Linked DNA regions of Homo sapiens: regions 1 and 2 are each linked to region 3. The links are contacts of gene promoters, found by promoter capture Hi-C in blood cells and fetal thymus (Javierre and others, 2016). All regions are on one chromosome and are shown on one strand. Each heading gives the region's core, a stretch centred on a gene start or on the middle of the fragment in contact. The rest is flanking DNA. Distances are from core to core; before and after follow the strand shown.

Region 1 (3,423 bases), core at 733-3,232, 710 kb before region 3:
AATTAGAAACTTAGGGCCCATAAATAAAAAAAAAATCATGGTAGAGACATTTATGCAAATTGCTCAGAGCCTGCAGTGGAGTTAGCTTTGCTTTAAAGAAACATGATTTTTTTTTCTAACATACTGTACACGGCAGCACTGTGGCCACATCACGTGGCTTAAACGAGCTCTTCTTTTGTTTCCAATTTGTTCCAATTACAGGCCTGTAAATTCAAATCATTCTTTTGACTGTCTTGATTGAAATGTAGAGTTTCCACAATTTCTACTGGGAGTTCTGTTTTTTTCTTCTTTTAATAAAAAAGGAGAAGTGTTTTAAAGACATAAAGAAGAGCTTTAGATTCTTTTTCTGCTCTTTTAATTAAGATGTGTGCCACCATTTTCTAAGAACAATTGTGGATTCCATTTGGTACACAAACAATGCCTCCTTTTTCAATCCTGGTGAGCTGTAACTAGGTTTTGTTATGTGATATAATATTGAAGACTGCATAGATTCAACTGCCATCATTTTTATGATAATCATAGCACTTTTAGCTTTTCTCTCAATAATGTACTTGGATAAATGGGCAATTTTTGATGGCCCAAAAAGATAATAACCGTTTGGTTCTGAACGTCACTGCTTTCCTAAGGTACATGTTCCCCCTTTTCAGACTTTATTATTTGTTGCATTTATTCAAGAAAGGTTATCCACAGTAAAACTGCTTTTTCTATTCAACAGTCTATCTCTGTCATGGTTCATTTATGTGTGAGCATGACGGACTGAAGCCCGTATTATCCACAGCTGACAAGTGTCAGGCCGACAGTTCAATCAGCCCTTCCTCGAGATGATGCCCAGGGCCCCGTGTTTGAAGTAGGACAATAAAGCAGGCAACACAATCCGGGCAAACTGATCCGATCCCTGTATGTAAAGGGGATTCTGCTTAATAACACAGTGTGGTTTTTTTCCCTCTCCAAACACATTAGTCCTTAAACAGTGAGTTGGCCCTTAAGAAAATCTGTGACTGACATGAAAATGCTGAAGTTTTAAGGTGGTTGGTTTATCCGTAACCTCATGGGGCTGCTTCTTTGTGCAGACTAGTTTTGTCAAAGTCAGAAAAATAATGTATTCAGTGTCTGATCATTTTTAGGGAGTTATTCGAATGGGATTTTAAGTCAGACATCCTGATGTTGACACAGGGATCATTTTCTTGTCCTTTTGTTTTACATTTGTGGAACAGATCATTTGCATTGGCTAATAAAATTAAATCTCTGAAATGCATACAAAAGTGAGTTCCCTTCAGCAACAATCCTCAATTCCCTCCACCAGCCGAGTAAGCAGAGTTGCTGGGTGTGTTTCTTTATATTGGGTCTCTCTAGAACACAGGCTATAATGCAAACATATCTTCAAAATTAGTGCTCCTTCGGCCTGGGTAACACTTAGACTCAAATGTATATTAAAGTATTTCACTACAGATCCTGACAATCAACAGCAGAGCCAAAGTCGATAAAATGCTAATAACCTGCTGCGGTCTGTTCCTTGGAGGACTGGGGTACTGCTGTTGTGCTCTCTTCCAGCCTTCAAACCATTGCAGGCGACAACGGGCAAGGGAAGGCGGCTCACCCCTTTAGAAGGGGCCAGAGCACTACATGCCTTTCATAAGGAGGAAGCCAAAGACCCTCTTAAAGCATCATAAAACCTTCAAGCCAGAAGGCACAATGCAAAACATCAAACCCAACCTCTTCCATACTTGATGAATGAGGCTCAGAGACATTTTTGTGACTTCCAACGTCAGAGAGCTTGTAAGTAGCAGTGGAAGGAAAAGGTTAACAACAACAACAAAAGAATCCTCTGAATTTTGCTTCTCTTTATATGACTTTACTAGGCTGGGCAAGTTAGTGCAGAAGGGACTGATGAAAAGCAGAATCCAGAAGTCAGAACGTGAGGAATGATGCCGGCAACTACCAAACATGACTTCTGTCAATTTCCTTCTTGCACAATGCTGGAAGTCCTAAGTAACGTATTTTCTGTGAATGTTGGTTTTTCTCCGTCTACCCTGCTCTGTCCGAATCTACCCATTTACTGCATTCTCTCCCCCACTTTGACCCCACAGACCACATCACCCAAACACCCTTGGCTGCTGGCTTCCAACTGTATTAGAGACGAGGGGAGGCACTAATGGCCAGTCAAGTGGGAAGAGAGAAGCTACACTGTGTCCTTGTCCCCTGCTTGGACTCCCCATCTCAGAAGAAGACTGTGTCCCTCCAGCACTCCTGCTTCCACCGAGAGGCTCTTCCTCCAGGGCTCCAACTATCATGGGCCCCAGTCCCTCAGTTTCCTCCCCTTGGCCCTTCATCCTTGGGGATACCAGCTCCCCACTGGTGCTAAACTTGGGGTGCCTCCCATCTCTTGTTTGTCCACCTACCTCTGCCCACACTTCTGAAGTAGCCCCTTCTTTAAAGTCTCCAGCAGAACCATCTCCAGTGAGTTCTGTTTCCTGCTGGGACTCTGATGCATTGAGTGATTTGCATTGCTAACTGATCCTACTTCTAGTCCAGTAGTTCTTAGGATATTCTAAAATCCCACAGAGAATCTGATGAAAGCTATAGGATCTCTTCCCACACACACAAAAAAGTCACTTCTGCACATATGCATAAAATTTCAGACAACTGTGGCATGCTCATAGACACTTAAAGGCTATTTACAAATTTTCTAGGGCATCCATGAAACCCCCAATATCAAACACCCATTTGCTCCATTTGATCATATCACGTCCTTCTCAAAAGCCTCTCCTGATGTCAAATCAACTACCAGAAAGCATGAAACCCAGACTCCTCAGAGCAGCATTTCAGGCTAAATCTGCCAGGGCCCCATTAACAAAAGAGCTGAAGGGGAAATTTAATACAGGGGAGTTGTTGCAAAGGTGGAGAAAGAGGTGAAATGACAAGGGCAATGGTAAGGCAATCCAAAGATCAGCACCAGCAGCAAGCCAGGAATGAGGCCTGAGGGTCAAAGGAAAGAGGTGATGTCACCAAAGCCCAGGAGCCAGGGCTGTCCGGGGGAGCCAAAATCATAACAGGGGTCTCTCGACAGGAGCTGGAGTCCAGAAAAAAGACCCAGCCACAGCTGGTGATGCTGCCAAAGCAGAAAGAGAAGGTGAGGACTCTCAGGGCTTCTTTTCTCCTGCAGCTCTCCAGTCTTCACAGACCACATGACTCAGCAGCTAGCTGAGCAAAAGCCTGCAGGGATGCCTGAGGACCAGGGCAGGGGGAAGGCTGCGATGAGCATAAGATACAACAGGCCAGCCCAGGCATGGTGGCTCACGCCTGTAATCCCACCACTTTGGGAGACCGAGGCAGGTGGATCATCTGAGGTCAGGAGTTCAAGACCAGCCTGACCAAAATGGTGAAACCCCATCTCTACTAAAAATACAAAACTTAGCCAGGCAT
Region 2 (3,302 bases), core at 368-2,867, 590 kb before region 3:
AATACTAGTAACCTATAATGAGAAGACAAGGAAGGTGGCCCCTAGTTATTTCTTGACCATGTCCTTGGCCAGAAAGACTGGCCAACAGAAGCCAGAGGAGTGGGTAGATGTTCAGGCCTCTACTCAAGTTCAGCAAGGGCTGGTACAGCTATACTCTGCTGTGTGGGTGCAAAATACCTAGATTTTTTGGACTACTAATTGTTTGCTAATAATAACTGTTCATCACCCAAACCTTGTTAGTTGTTCATCACCCAAACCTAAGAGATTTTCTTTCTTTAGCACCATTCAGAAAATTACAATATTCAAATAAATTAAGATACGCAAACACCGAAGAACTTTTAAACACAGGTCTTGATGTTTACCTACAAATTTTGAATTCTATGACTCAAAAAATAAATCAACAGAAACTGATAGTGAAATGGATATTTAAGACTGAGATCACAGTCAGGAAGCAGTGAGTACTTAAGATGAATAAGCTTAACCTATTTAAACATAAAACAAGAAGGGAAGTAAGACAAAAATTACCTCTTTTCCATCCATTCATACTTTCTGAACAATTAGTTTCTTATGACTCCAGGAATTTGACATTAGACTATGTTCTACCAACCATATTACAGAAGATAAATGTGACCTAAGTGTCTGTCCCTTGACAGTTTTGCATAAATTCAGAGTGATTTCTGATTTTTTATTAAGAATATACTGTCATGGCGAAACCCTGTTTCTACAAAATATAAATCAGTTGGGTGTGGTGGCATGTGCCTGTAATCCCAGCTACTTGGAAGGCTGAGATGGGAGGATCAGCTGAGCCTGGGAGCCATGATTACACCACACCGCACTCCAGCCAGGGCAACAGAGCAAAACCCTGTCTCAAAACAAATAAAAAAAGAATATGCTGATGAAAAAATTTCTAAAAGCAAAGCAAATATTTAGTAATCTCTTCTAAAAGTACCAAAAAGCTTAGTAGAGTACCTAAAGCTGAAATAATTTATTTACAACCATCAAAATGCCGGCCTTCAGTCAAGTACACCAGTGTTAAGAACTATGAAATAAGATAAGAGCTGGAGACCAAGAAGAGTCAGCTGGGTCTGGGAGTGATGCTGGCCTCAAGGCCCCACCCAAGAGCAATTATTGCCTGGTAAGCCAAATGGCTCATTCTCTTCTCCTTTTATTTAGGAACAAAAAGATGTCAGCAGTAGAGAAGGTGGCAAGGTAGGCAGTTAAGTAGTAAGAATAATGGCAGGGTTGCTATTTAGCTTTTTTTTTTTTAACTCAGAATATCCTCGTATTCACAGGCAGGTCTTGCCAGACTTACTGTAGAAGAAACTAATCAACATCCCTGGGAAGATGAGAAAATGAGTGCTGAAGATGACCTTCCTTAGCCTTCCTCTTCCAGAAGGACTAAGAAGCATGCGAGCTACATCTCTCTTTTCCTTCCTGTTCCCTGGGCTGCCTTGCAATACCTGGTGGGGCACATACCTGCCTTCCATGGCAGACCTTTGGCAGGATAGTAGTGGCAGATAGAAGAGAGAAAGTGGAAAAAAAATTCCCCTGTACCCTGCTAGTATTCCCCATTAAGAAACTGCCTTGGCAGCAACCAAGGACAAATATAAATGAGTTTGTGAGTGTTAGAAAAGCAAGCCTTTCTGCCTGGCACATACCATTACATAAGCCAGAACCACACAGAAACTTTATGCTATTTTACCCTTAAACTTTGCCAGTGGTAGTAGCAACAGCATCTGGTGGCACCATAACATTAACATCTTCCCTTTAAAACAAGATTAGAATTCCTAAGATTTGAGTAAGTATAGAGTTGAGCATATGTCTTCATAAGACAGCTTCCATTTCAGCTTCCAAAAATAAAAATAGGAACCCACTTATTTTAAAATCGTGCTCTAAAACATAAACCAAGTGGTATAATGTAATTTGGTGGGGGACTTTTGCTGATGTTTGTTATTGACTTATTTTCTGGTATTTTAAAAATAGAAAAAAGAATACTTAAGAAGATTCTCCAGCAGGTTAGTAAGATTCCATATTGCCAAGGAAAGCATGTCAAATTACAGGATGTCAGCCTTAAAACACACTGACACATAGGTATACACACAGACACATACACACATCCTTATCACTGCATAAAAAAGAGGTGTCCTTATACACATAAGCTACACTCAATACTTTCAGAACAGGGTAACTTTGGGGACACTGGTAATTTATAGGCAAGGATTTGTTTTAGAATCTACTTCTCTGATTACAGACATAGAATCTTTGATGAAAAGCTTCTTGAGATCAAACTGTTAATCAGCACACACAAGCTTTTAGGTCTACAACATGGCTTGTCCTTAGGTGATCTGTACTTTCCATTAGAAGCACAGGAGTGTTTTATTAATTTTTTTAAAGGAAAAAGAAAATGCTGATGTTTTAAGAAAGATGGATGTACCTTTTAGGTCCTTAAAATTTAAAGGTTATTTGTAAGATTAAAATATAATCTTGAACTCATTAAAATATTCACCTTGAACAAATCTGTGATAAAAATAATTATTATGTGAAATAACTTTTAAAAGAAGGTAGAAATAAAAAGGTGGGTGGTAGAGAACAACATATTCTAACTGTTATTGCTGAAAAGGAGAGACCGATGAGGAGATGGAAGCAGTCAGAAGAGAGGCAGGCAGAGCCTGAAGGACCCCGAATAGCGACTCCTTCACTGCTAAATGCACGTCCCACCTTCTCTCAGCCTCCAGTGAATACAGATGTGCCTTGGCAATACAGGGAGTTGCTTTCCTGCACTACTGATGGAATGCGGAATTACAGCAGGTGTGAAGGTCTCCCTCAATTATATTCAAGCCAGTATATTTACTATTTACTACTGCTTCAAAAATCAATTTTTTCAAAACAATTAATCATTTATGAAGGTTTCAACTGTTGCTGTTTTATGATTAAACTTGGCTTGAATTGTGCTTCACGAAAAAGTAGGAAAAAGCCACGGTGTGCTTGAGTCTGATAGCAGCAAGGATAACCCTTCCCTTACTTTAAACAGAAGCAAAACAAGCCAACAAGCAAATCACCTCCACAACAATACAGGAAGCATAAATACATAGTTTCTTTAGCTTTTCTGCTGCCTATAAGAAACATGAAGGAGTAAGTCAGTTAACAGCCATGCTTCCCAGTGGGAATGTGGCCTGCCTCTGCCCAGCTGGGCTGTGAATACATACCGCATTGCTCTCAGTGCAATTTTGTATGCCAATTCAGCATCGTGAGGTAGGAGAGAGGTGAAGAGATACTTGGCAAATGTGTGCATTGGAACGCTC
Region 3 (3,417 bases), core at 198-2,697:
GTGAGACATATTCCCTGCCTGACAGAGGAGCTCATTAGGGAAACAAGTCTAAATATTAAAATAAGTTACAGAAAAAGGCCAGGCAAAAATAAATTAATTGAGTGATAAATCACAGAATACATTTTATATGTGTGGGAAATGAATGGCACATAATCTTGGAAAGGTCTTAGTGCTTCTCAACATTGCTGATCTTATATTATCTCTAACTTTCAAGTGAGGATGTTGAGACTTGGAGAGGACAAGTACTTTTTCCGTGATTCCCGAGCTATCAGGTGTCAAAGCTGAGATTCTAACCCACGCCTCTTCGCCCAAAACCTGACATTTTCTGCATGCGGCGATGGAACAACACAGAAGAGGTTACGACGGCGGCTACACAGTGTGATTTCAATGGACAGCAACGCCTCCTTACTCCCCAAACAACCCGCTCAACTACTTGGCACGAATCCTACACAGTAACACCATGATTATTGCCACGTTTCTTAAATTGAGCTCAACGGGGTCTTGGAATGTCAACTCCCGAGAAAGGAATCAGCGAGCCTTGTGGGGATATGGACCTACTTCTGACAAGTCTTGGTAGTAAGGAAGGCGCATGGGGCCAGCGCCGGAGCCAGGGTGCCACCGAAAAGGGTAAACACCAAGAAAGAAGACAGCCGAGGCGCTGAAGATACTCCTCTTCAATTACACCACTCAGCTCTGGGTCACAAGGCGGGGAACAGCGTACGAAAAACCCCTCCCCTGGCCCTTCTAGCCCCTTTGGTGAAAGATTTCCGTGGACTTTTCCCTGCCTCCGTCGCCAGTCCAGGGCTAAAACTGAGGCTCCTCTACAGGCGTGGCTGGGAGGAAAGTGGTGGTGCGCCTTAACAGCGCAAGCAGCCCGGGGCACGCCGGGGGAAGGCGCTGGGTAGTAGGGACCGCGGACGCACGAGGCCGGGCCAAGGCGCCCAGAGCCGGGCCGGGTAGGGCTCCGATGCCAGAGTGAAGGGGTCGACAGGGGAGAACGAACTCGGGAAATTCTCTCCGGTGACACCCTAAGTGTCGCATGATGCGTTAGTTGACTAGGGGCTCTCACTTTTCCCTCCTTTACTGACCTCGCAATCACTGACCACGCAATCGCTGCCCACGCCGCCACCTCACCTCTCCAGTTCTTGTACTGCGGGATGTAGTAGTATTTGTTCCCGAATTGGTCCGTGCCCACGTGCTCCTTCACTTCCCTTGACAGCGATCTCCACAAGGCGCGGAACAAATCCTGAGACCAACCCATGCCGTCCACCCAGTTTCCAGCGCTGCCAGCAGCGGGACCCGCAGTAGGGGTAATGCTCCAGCCGCCGACCCAGCCCACCGAGGCGGAGAAGTCAGGTCGGCCTCCATCCTGGAGCCCTTCTAGTAACGGCGCTCACCATTGGCCGGATATATCACCGACTGACCAATGGGAGACTCTGCTGTTCCAGTCCCGCCCCTGAGCTCTGTCATGGCGACGTCCAGTGCTCCAGCCGGTGTGAGGACACGATATGCTGGGGTTTTTGTCCGCACGCCAAACGGGTTTGGAGGACCCTCTTCGCCTTCGGAGAGCAGAGTCAACACGGAGGTAAAGAAAACCTTACTTTTTGGCTAACAGGCCAGTTAGAATCTGGACCAATGACTGTAAGCTTTGCCCCACACTTTCCCGTCTCATCGCTCTCCTGCCACCAAACTATTATTTGCCCTCTAATGCTGTGTGGCTTGCTAAAATAGGATCCCTTTTATTTACTGGTAACAACTTGCAGGCGGGGGGCGGCGGGGGTGGGGGGGGTTCCCCGGGGGTGGGGGGGGGGTTCCCCCGCGGGCTCAGGTGAAGACACTATAAACCTAAATAAGAATACTTCGTTGTACTGTATTCCTTCTCTCTTAAGTTACTCCAAAGAATAACTGCCCTCCACGGACTCGTTCATTCATTCAGTCTGCATATTTAGTGAATTCCTACAGTGTGCCAGGCAGCCTATTAAAGGCAGAGGACACAGGCCAGGAATTGAACAAAGTTCAGAATGACTAGAGCGGAGAATTGGGGTAGGGACCATTGACAAGAGATGAAGTAGACAGAAACTAGATGAGGAAGAGCCTTGTGTACTTGAGTAGAGGTGTGAAGATGAGAATAAGGTAACAGCTATTGCATTTTGTTTTCTGCTTGGAGAATGGGTTGCAACTGAGAACAAGAGTGGGAGCCAAGTTAGGTAACTGTTGTGATTACACTTGTCCGGGAGAGAGTTGTTGGAAGCCTGGGCCACAGAGTTGCCAAGTAGAATAAAGATAGTGGAGAGATTTGAACAACGTCTGAGAAATAGAATCAACAGGCCATGGAAATTGAGTGGATACGTGAATGACAAAAAGAGAAGAATGAATAATGATTCCCAGATCTATGCCTTGTATAAGAAGTTGAATGTTGGTAATATACTCTGAGAGAGGGTTTTCCAAAGGGAAGAAGCAAGTTGTACTTTTAATTTTGCCCACATTAATTGAGGAACCTGTGAAGATATTTACTTGGAGAACACAGTTGCTTATGAGTTCTGCGTTCTGGAGAAATTTAAATATTAGTTTCCAACATTTTATCCATTACGTTTTCAATGTTGTGAAATATCTCTGAGAGTTCCTTTAATGTGTTTTTTTTGCCAGTGTCACTTCCTCTGACACATCATCAGCCTTTCATCACAATCACTTTTCCTCATTTATGTCTATAAGTTCACCTTCACTGATTTCCTCAGTCTGCATATCTAGAATGTCTCAAATGGCGGCAGTGTCATTGTTGCCACAATCAGCATGTTCCCACAGGCAGCTTTTTTTTCATTTGCTCCATTTATGTTTAATGCAAGTTTCACTTCTAGTATTATCACTCTTCTTTAGTGCACTTTCATTCTTTTGGCCAATTTCCTCTTTTAATCTGTAAAATTCCATGTGGGTTTATCTCAAGGGCACAGAAATATTAATAACAAACCTCCATGCTTTGCAGCCTGTGTGTGAACTGAATAACAGATGCACAGTGACCAATCACCCATAGACTTTGAAAGAAGTAAAATTGCAAATTGGTCAATTTTGATTCATATGTTATTTATGTAATGATTTGTGAACTGAAAAGCTAGTAGCAAACTTTTATGCTATTTCTCACGGTTAATAAACTGTGGTAACTGAAATTCATATCAGACTGTGCCAAGTGAGGATTGCTTATACGTTTAAGACAAATAAAGTATTTAAAAATTAAAAAAATATTTTTTTTTTGAGGCAGGGTCTTGCTCTGTCACCCAGGCTGGAATGCAGTGGTGCAGTTACAGCTCACTGCAGCCTCGACTTTCCAGGCTCAAATGATCCTCCCATCTCATCCTCCTAAGTAGCTGGGACCACAGACATGTGCCCACACACCTAGCTAATTTTTAAATTTTTCGTAGAGAT

What was found. Contacts are between HindIII fragments. The CHiCAGO score rates a contact against its expected background, and 5 or more counts as called.
Region 1: a fragment that was not itself captured here is called in contact with the fragment with the promoter of ERCC8 in region 3 in 10 of 17 cell types (naive CD4 T cells, total CD4 T cells, activated CD4 T cells and 7 more); the score reaches 13.2 in naive CD4 T cells.
Region 2: a contact is called between a fragment that was not itself captured here and the fragment with the promoter of ERCC8 in region 3, in 1 of 17 cell types (activated CD4 T cells). The highest score is 5.1, in activated CD4 T cells.

The regions. Positions count from the first base shown.
Region 1 is chr5:61,654,602-61,658,024 of GRCh38, reverse strand. All of the region lies in intron 1 of LINC03122 (long intergenic non-protein coding RNA 3122), which reads right to left. Among named protein-coding and RNA genes, the nearest start is that of LINC03122, 19 kb to the right of the region's middle. The HindIII fragment of the contact is 4,377 bases long and covers 1-3,423 here.
Region 2 is chr5:61,535,524-61,538,825 of GRCh38, reverse strand. It overlaps ZSWIM6 (zinc finger SWIM-type containing 6), which reads right to left. Exons shown (of 14, transcript NM_020928.2): 10 at 3,207-3,302; 11 at 1-12. Among named protein-coding and RNA genes, the nearest start is that of LINC03122, 100 kb to the left of the region's middle. The HindIII fragment of the contact is 1,317 bases long and covers 959-2,275 here.
Region 3 is chr5:60,943,100-60,946,516 of GRCh38, reverse strand. ERCC8 (ERCC excision repair 8, CSA ubiquitin ligase complex subunit) reads left to right here and starts at 1,447. Exons shown (of 12, transcript NM_000082.4): 1 at 1,447-1,585. The coding sequence starts at 1,509. It overlaps NDUFAF2 (NADH:ubiquinone oxidoreductase complex assembly factor 2), which reads right to left and starts at 1,312. Exons shown (of 4, transcript NM_174889.5): 1 at 1,135-1,312. The coding sequence starts at 1,261. RefSeq lists an enhancer at 547-676. The HindIII fragment of the contact is 6,619 bases long and covers 1-1,648 here.